3 separate regions of the Homo sapiens genome follow, and regions 1 and 3 are each linked to region 2. The links are contacts of gene promoters, found by promoter capture Hi-C in human tissues and cell types (Jung and others, 2019). All regions are on one chromosome and are shown on one strand. Each heading gives the region's core, a stretch centred on a gene start or on the middle of the fragment in contact. The rest is flanking DNA. Distances are from core to core; before and after follow the strand shown. Region 1 overlaps MAPK4 (mitogen-activated protein kinase 4). Region 2 holds the start of MAPK4 (mitogen-activated protein kinase 4). Region 3 has its middle 53 kb from the start of MRO.

What was found. The method cuts DNA at HindIII sites, captures the fragments that hold promoters and counts their contacts. A contact is called where the count stands out against the background at its distance.
Region 1: a contact is called between a fragment that was not itself captured here and the fragment with the promoter of MAPK4 in region 2, in 1 of the 25 tissues and cell types used here (lymphoblastoid cells).
Region 3: a contact is called between a fragment that was not itself captured here and the fragment with the promoter of MAPK4 in region 2, in 3 of the 25 tissues and cell types used here (H1 embryonic stem cells, dorsolateral prefrontal cortex and heart left ventricle).

The regions. Positions count from the first base shown.
Region 1 is chr18:50,710,576-50,713,275 of GRCh38, reverse strand. All of the region lies in intron 2 of MAPK4 (mitogen-activated protein kinase 4), which reads right to left. Among named protein-coding and RNA genes, the nearest start is that of MRO, 110 kb to the left of the region's middle. The HindIII fragment of the contact is 8,453 bases long and covers 1-2,700 here.
Region 2 is chr18:50,558,806-50,561,505 of GRCh38, reverse strand. MAPK4 (mitogen-activated protein kinase 4) reads right to left here and starts at 1,419. Exons shown (of 6, transcript NM_002747.4): 1 at 1,263-1,419. The HindIII fragment of the contact is 20,188 bases long and covers 1-2,700 here.
Region 3 is chr18:50,766,048-50,768,747 of GRCh38, reverse strand. No RefSeq gene overlaps it. Among named protein-coding and RNA genes, the nearest start is that of MRO, 53 kb to the left of the region's middle. The HindIII fragment of the contact is 5,709 bases long and covers 1-2,700 here.

The DNA of each region.
Region 1 (2,700 bases), core at 20-2,519, 150 kb before region 2:
AAAAGTCAAGTTTATTGAAGTATAATTTACATAGGGTAAAATTCACCAGTTCTGTGAGTTTTGACAAAAGCATAGTCATGTCACCACCATCACAATCAAGATACGTAACAATTCCATCATCTCAAACAATTTATTCATGCCCTCTTTTGGTCACCCCTAGTCCCAGCCCCTAGCAACTGCTCTTTTCTGTCTCTCTAATTTTACCTTCTGTATAAATGGAATGACAGTATGTAGCCTTTTGAGTCTGAATTCCTTCACTTAGCACAATGCATCTGAGACTCATCCATGGTGTGTGTACAGTAGGCTGTTAGGAATTTAAGTTCGATTCTAAAAGTTACAGGAACAAGCCAAATACTGTCTGTAGAAGTTCATTTTTAGGTGGGTGGGTTCTAAAAAAATAGTCTGGTTTTATTTTCAGTCAGAGGGTGAGATTGTCAGGGAAAAGACTAAAGCAAGAGTACCCAGAGGGGAGGTAGCTTCAGGGGAGTTTTCTCTGATATGTAAATGCACAGTCTTTTATGAAACAGAATGGTCTGGAATTGACATCTGCCTCTCCTCAGAGTCTAGGGTTAAAGAACAGTGGGGACAGGGGGCTTTCTTCTGAAACACTTGCTCTGAAAGTAAAAGAAAGATGTTGACATGGGTAAGGCTGCCCTTGGGCCAGAATTACAGACCAGGTCATGATAGGAGCTAAGAAAGTTGCTTTCCAGCTCTTCCTTTTTTTTTTTTTAATGAAAAACAAGAGCCTGCTGAATTTTTAACTACTAGCTATCTTCCTATGGTTACTTGTTCTTCACACTCTTTAAAAAAACATAAAGTGGATTTTTTGTTTGTTTTTGTTTTCTTTGAGACAGGTTCTCGCATTCTGTCGCCCAGGCTGACATGCAGTGGCGCAACAGTGGCTCACTACAACCTCTGCCTCCCAGGCTCACGGGACCCTCCCACCTCAGCCTCCCAAGGAGCTGGGACCACAGGCGCACACCAACACACCCAGTTAATTTTTGTATGTTTTGTAGAGATGGGGTTTCGTCATGTTGCCCAAGCTAGTCTCAAACTCCTGAGCTCACGCAGTCTGCCTACCTCGGCCTTTCGAAGTGCTGGGATTACAGGCATGAGCCACTGTGCCCGACACTTAAAGGGGATTTGTTGATATGTTTCAGAAGCCACAAGGCTGAGAAGAATTTGGGAAGGTGCAGTGTCTTCTGCCAAGCTGGTGCAAGAGAAGCCCCAGGAAGGGGAGATGGGAATATATGGGAAGCTCCATTCCCAGGTCTGGGGGCAGACACAGTGGACCAGGGCCCTGCTGTCAGCTGAGCTGAGCCCTGGGTGTCCGAATGGGAGAGGCTCTGGGGCCCACAACATGGTACTGGTGATCAGAATTCAAGAGAGGAGTTGCAGTCGAGTGGATGGGGTGAAATTCAGGATAATTTTCTACAAAAAAAAAAAAAAAACTTTAAAGAATACCCAGAAGTCGAGACCCAATTTTATTAAAAGAGCTCATAAATCAATAAGTATATTGGCTCAAAAAAAATCTCCAAATAGCCCTCTGCCCAAGCCTGCAGGGTGAGGATAGTTTCAGCTTCTTTTGGATGTAGAGAGGAACATGTCTCTGTGATCAGACCTGGTCTCCCCAGGCAGGGCATGCCCATGCACAGGGTGGCCAAGGAGGGAGTGAGCAGGACAGCAGGCACACTTGGCGCACAAGTGGGTGCGTCTGCACGCGGCTGTTGCAGGCCAGCTGGGGCCAGCCTCTTGTGTGAGGCTTTGTAACATCACTGCTCTGAGAAGACATGAAGTGCACACTCCCACAGTTCTCTGTGACCACCACTCAGAGCACAAGAAACAAGATGGGAGTGGCCCCTTCCTAATCGTCTATTTCCTCCTGCCACCTTGTGCCCACTGGGAGGCAGATGAACATGGTTTCCTTTCTAGACCCTTTTAAGGGGCCTTGGGACTTTCGTCAGCTATTGCTCCCATCCACCCATTTTGCTGTCCCTTTAGAGTCACGCAGAGCCCATGGGAGGCTTTGACTTTAAAAGCTTCAGAGGTGTTTGGGAAATAATCTAGCAGCAGCTGCCCTGTGAGGAGCATAATTAGGGGCCCCTGAAGGATAGAGAGAAGGTATAATTAAAGCTCTGAGCATTCTCTTTGCAGAGGGAGCAGGGAAGCAGCCCTCGATCCCAGCTGCCTGCCAGGGAATTCAGAACAGCCTGGATCAAAGTCACTCCAGAAGGGTGGGCACTCCCAGCTGCTCCAGCAAGCCCGTGCTGGGTGGGCACCAGTTCTGATCTGGAGCCAAGTCTCCTGTGCCTGCCCTTGCTGTGCCCCCACTGCCTGATCTCTTGCGTGTGGGAGTTGGAAGGTTGGGGGAGAAGGCTCAATCCAATAAACTTTCTACTACACCCTTTAATGATAATGTGCCTACTAATCCCTTAGGGGTATGATGAATTTATTTATTTATTTATTTATTTATTTATTTATTTATTTATTTATTTAGAGACGGAGTCTCACTCTGTCACCCAGGCTGGCGTGCAGTGGCGCTATCTCTGCTCACTGCAAGCTCCGCCTCCCGGGTTCACGCCATTCTCCTGCCTCAGCCTCCTGAGTAGCCGGGACTGCAGGTGCCTGCCACCACGCCCGGCTAATTTTTTTTTGTATTTTTAGTAGAGATGGGATTTCACTGTGTTAGCCAGGATGGTC
Region 2 (2,700 bases), core at 170-2,669:
GTAGGTACTCAATAAATATCTGTTACATTGAGAACGTCATGACGCTTCACCTTCGCACGGGGTAGGTGCTCAATACATATCCATTCAATTGAAAAGTCTGCAGTATACCTGCTTTTCACATAGTAGGTGCTCAATAAGTATATTTTACATTAAGGTTATTTAAGATAGCTGCCTTGCACACAGTAACCTCCCAGTAAATGGCTACTGAGCAGTTGTGGACACTCCTCAACCCAGGCAGGGGTGACATTAATCAACCCCCAGGCACAGATCCATGAATGGAAATGCACGTCTCGAGGTAGTGCTTTCGAGAGTGCTGGAGAGGCGCGTGACAGTACGCGGCCGCTGCGCTCTGTCGGGACGCTGCTGACCCACTGCTGGCTCCAGGGTATCGATTAGCGATCGGAATCCATTCCCCACCCAGGGGCGGGAAACAGCCGCCGCCTCCAATGGTCATTTCGGGGACGCACCTGGAACTCCCGCCACAGCCCCCTCCCGGGGCATCCGCCCACCCCGGCTTCACCTACGATTCCGTAGAGTAGCTGGCAGAACAAAAGCAAAAGCCGGCCTGACTTCCGATTGCTTTCCTGATAGAGAGCAACCCGGGAGGAGGCTCAGGGAGCCGGCCCGGGACCCAGCTGGGATGTCAAACCCGAGCCGCTGCCCTCTCCGGCAGGCTGGGGCTCTGGGTCGCCCAGCGGCGAAAGCGGCGGGGTCCCCCCACTCCCCCTCTCCCAGGGGCTACCTACCGCCAGTGTAGGCGCCTCTGTCGGGTGGCGAGGGGAGAGGACGCTGTATTAACCCTTCAACGAGAAAGGGAGAGGCTGGAGGGGAGGATAATCGGGACTGCGATCCGAATCTGAACTCGCAGTGTGAACTGCCCCTCGGCGACCCCAAGCGCTCCGGACTGTCCCCGGGGGTGGGGTCCCCTAGCGGCGCCCGGCCCCTGCGTCCTCCTCCCCTAAACACAACGCGAGGAGCCCAGCGGCAACCTCCCATCCCAAACGGGTCCAGGACAGCACCGGCGCGCGGTCTGCAGGCGAGGAGCTCACCCAGGGCAGCCGGGCGGGTCCCGCGGGAGACCCCCGCCGCTCGGAAACTCGCTAGTTTGGCAGTGGCTTGGCCTGGGGGGCTTATTGTTAGGGTAAGGTGGGGAGGCAGTGCGGGCGGGGAAGTCTCATCTCTTCCCCGCTTCTCCGGAGCCCGCCGAACTCCGAGAGGCGCAGGCGGCGGGAGGAGAAAGCCAGCGGAGGGGAGCCACTTACCGAGGCAGAGCCCGAGAGCGTGGCGGCCCGGGCGCGAGCCGCCCTTTGTCTGCGGCCGCGGCGCCGGCGCGCTCGGCCAGGCCGGTCCCAGCCACGGCGCACGGCGAGCTCCCGCGGTCGCCCCGACAGCCCGGCTCGCTGCTCCAGCTCGGGCTCCGGCTCCCGCCCCGGCCCCGGCCCCAGCCTGCGCCGCCGCCGCCTCGGCTCCGCCCAGAGCCGGGCCCCGCCCCCGCCCACTGGGCCCCCACCTGCTGCGGCGGTGGCGCTGGGGAGCCGGGCCCTGGGCGCCCGGGGGCGGCAGTCTCCCGCGCGCCCTGCTCTGCCCTCCCGCAGCCTCCAGGCCGCTCAGCCGCGCGGTCCTGGGGCCTTCCCGGACCCAGTCCCGCGGAGACGAGCTCACCTGGGGAGCCGAGCCCCGTCCCGGGTAGCCTGGCCTTCCCGGGGCACACGCGGTAGAGCTCCAGTCACTCAGAAGCCCTTCCTCACGCCCGCCGTGGGTGGGGGATCCTCGGGCTCCGTCCGGGAGGGAGGGGGCGCCGAGAAGGCGGGAAGCGGGGATCTGCCTGAGCCCGGTCGCCGCCCCGCCAGCCCCGCGCGGCTGCAGCCGCCGGGGGCCCGGTGGGAGGGTGGGTGGGGAGAAGGAGCCGGCGGGGACCGGTGGGCTCTGGAACCGGGGAGACCCGCGCGCGCGGGAAGGGGCACTGGGCCGAGGGTCGAGGGGGCGCGGAGCCCAAGTGCACCGGTCCCCAGCCGGCCTGGGATTCCGAGCGGGCCGCCTGGGCTGTGAATCTGTGCTCATTGGCATGACCGGAATAAAACTAACAAAAGAGAACCAACACTTTGGGATCCAGAGGAAAGGGACAGAAGAAGCCACTGGACCCTAACACTGGTAATAACTGGTGCTTCTGTGGTGCCTTCAGCGAGCCCAGAGCTGTGGGCACCGATGAGGGTCGTCACTGAACGCGGTGCGTCCCGTTGGAATGGTTGAGGCGCTGCTTTTCTAGGCATAGAAAAGTCTGATAACCTAAATATTGCATAATGAGGTCACTGGTGGCTTTAGCTGCCCATGAGCCTTCTCCTCTCCCAACTCCCAAAGCCTTCCGAGTGAGACCTGCGTTTTGGCACTTTCATAGGGTCTGCTGTGTACTGCAGTTATTCCCGCTTCGTCCCCCACCTCTACCCCCAGACCCTAATACAATTCCAGACGCTTAATAATTGTTGCAAGAATTCGCTGTCGAATTTTAGCGTGGGCAAAACATAAAAATGAAGGATTGTGGGATCATATTGGAAAATGCACTAAGGGTTTGCACAGTGATGGTGGTATGAAGGGTAATGAGTGTTGGCTGCCATTAGTACATAGTTGCGCTGCGACTCCTATGTGTGCAGGTAGTAGGTTTAGGATGATATGCTAAGTTAGAGACTGCAGTTATCAGGACCT
Region 3 (2,700 bases), core at 24-2,523, 210 kb before region 2:
TTCTTTCTTCTGCTTAATCTAGTATATATCAGAAGTTCCAAATGTATTTTAGTTTTTATCTTTGAATTCTTTAGTTCTAGGATTTCTTTTTGATTCTTTTTTATAATATCTATCATTTTGGTAAATTTTCATTCATATCCTGAATTTTCTGATTTCTTTGTATCATTTATCTGTGTTCTTGTATATCTCACTGAGCTGCTGCTGCTGCTGCTTCTAGATAGGCTCTCACTCTGTCACCCAGGCTGGAGTGCAGTGGCATGATCATGGCTCACTGTAGCCTCAACCTCCTGGGCTCAAGTGATCCTCCCACCTCAGCCTCCCAAGTAGCTGGGACAGCAGGTGTGTGCCACCATGCCTGGCTAATTTTTTAAATTTTTTTTTTTTTTAATAGAGACAAAGTTTCACTATGTTGCCCTGGCTGGTCTCTTAAACTCCTGGGCTCAAGCAATCCTCCTGCCTCGGCCTCCCAAAGTGCCAGGATTACAGGCATGAGACACTGTGTCTGGCCTCACTGAGCTTCTTTAATATCATTACTTTGAATTATTTTCCCAGCATTTCATACATTTCTTTTTCATTGGAATCTGTTGCTGGAGAATTATTGTGGTACTTTGGAGGTGTCATATTTCCTTGCTTTTCGATTTCTCTTATTACAGTACCTGTGCATCTGGTGTAACAGTCTCTTCTTCCAATTTTTTGGATTGGCTTTCATAGGGGAATACATTTTCCTAAAGCTGTATCTATGGTGTTGGTCAGGAGGGCATTTTAGCTTTGATTCTGGGTGTGCATAGTAGTGTTGTCTCTGTACAATTTCTTCAGCTGTAAACAGCATCAGTAGTGTCTGTTATTTCCTCAGTGGCTTAGGTTGCAGTTTTTAGTGGAAGGTATGGTGAGGTTTTGCTGGGGACAGGGATGGTGGCCAGTTCTCAGGTCCCAGTGGTCATAGTGGCCGGCTGAGGTTGCCTGTCTTTGGGCCCCTGGGAGGTATACATAGTGTTAACACTGCTAACATTGGTGTTAGCAGGTCCAGGTGGGCTGATTCTTAGGCCTCCAGGTGGATTGTTCAGGTGCTGGCTATGGCAGTGGTGGGCTGGGCAAGTAGGTTATTCCTTAGTCCTCTGGATAGGATGTGTGGGATGAGCAATGGCAGTAGTGTTCGTGGGACAACCTTTGGGCTCCAAACCAGCATGTGCTGTTGTTAGCAGTGGCTGTGATGGGCTGTGCACGCCAGTCCCCAGGTTCCCATGTGGTGCATATGGGTGGGCGCTGGTGGTGATGGTAGCAACAGGCTGGGTGGGCCTGTCTTCTGGCCCCTGGGAGAAGTGCATAGATGCCAGCAGTGGGGGGTGGGATATGATGATCCTCAGGCTTCTGGGCATCATGATTGGGCAAAAGGTGGGGGGTGGCTGGTGCTAGGCCACCTAGGCCTGTCATCTGGCCTTCTAGTGGGGTGCATGGGCACAGGCTGTGGTGGGCAGGGTGGGGCAATCCCCAGGCTCCCTAGTAGCACATTCAGGTGGTGGTGGCAGCCATGATGGTGGACTGGGAGAGTCTGTCTTCAGCATATGTGCACACACACTGCAGCCCTGATGCTGGGGTTGGGGGTTGGGGTTGCTGTCAGTGGGAGTGGTCCCAGGGAGGTGGCTCTCAGACTCTGGGAAGTGTGTGCTTTGGCCCCTGAAGCCTATTAAATTTAAAGGAAACTTTATTGCCAGAAAATATTACAGAGTTGGCAGATAATTCCTAGGTCAATCTTTAAGTTGCTTACAGAGAATAGAATGTTAAACCTGGAGTTCTGGAGGCTGAGAAGTCTAAGATCAAGTTTCTGGCATTTGGTATCTAGTGAGGACCTTCTTGCTGCACCGTCACATAATAGAAACCAGAAGGGCAAAAAGGGATGAACTTTATGTCCTTGCATGGCAGAAGAACAGAAGAGAGCAAACCTACTCTTGCAAGCCCTTTTTATAGCAGCATTAATCCTTTCATGAGGACTCTGTCCTCATGACTTAAACACCTTTCAAAAAGCTTCAAAGCTTCATCTTCTATAACTGCTACATTGGTGATTAAGTTTCCAACACATGAATTTTGGAGGCACAGTCAAATCGTAGCAGGAGTTCCTGCTATTTCTATTCCAGTGACTACCACGTGTGGTTTCCCATTCTCCCTTTCTCAAACTGGAGTTTGAATTGTCATTATCCTGTTCTCCTCACATGAGCATGCTGGGCATGCTCAAGTACTTGACTTACTTTCCAGCCTTCAATCACTGACCTTTTTAGCCAAAGCCTATCGGGGAATTATTCATCTTTCAGAGATGCTGGATTTGGAGGTGGATGAATCAACTTGTTGAACCTTTAGGTGCTTTCTTTTGGGGAATGATATGATTTGGCTCTGTGTTCCCACCGAAATCTCATGTTGAATTGTAATTCCCAGTGTTGGGGGAGGTACCTGGTGGGGGTGGGGCGATTGGATTGTGGGGGATGATTTCTCCCTTGTTGTTCTTGTGATAGTGAGATCTCACAAGATCTGATGGTTTAAAAGTGTGTGGGACTTTCTCCTTCACACACTCTCTCTCCTGCTGCCATGTGAAGATGTGCTTGCTTCCCCTTCACCCTTCCACCATGACTGTGAGTTTCCTGAGGCCTCCCAACCGTGCTTCCTGGATAGCCTGTGGAACTGTGAGTCAATTCAAACTCTTTTTTTTAT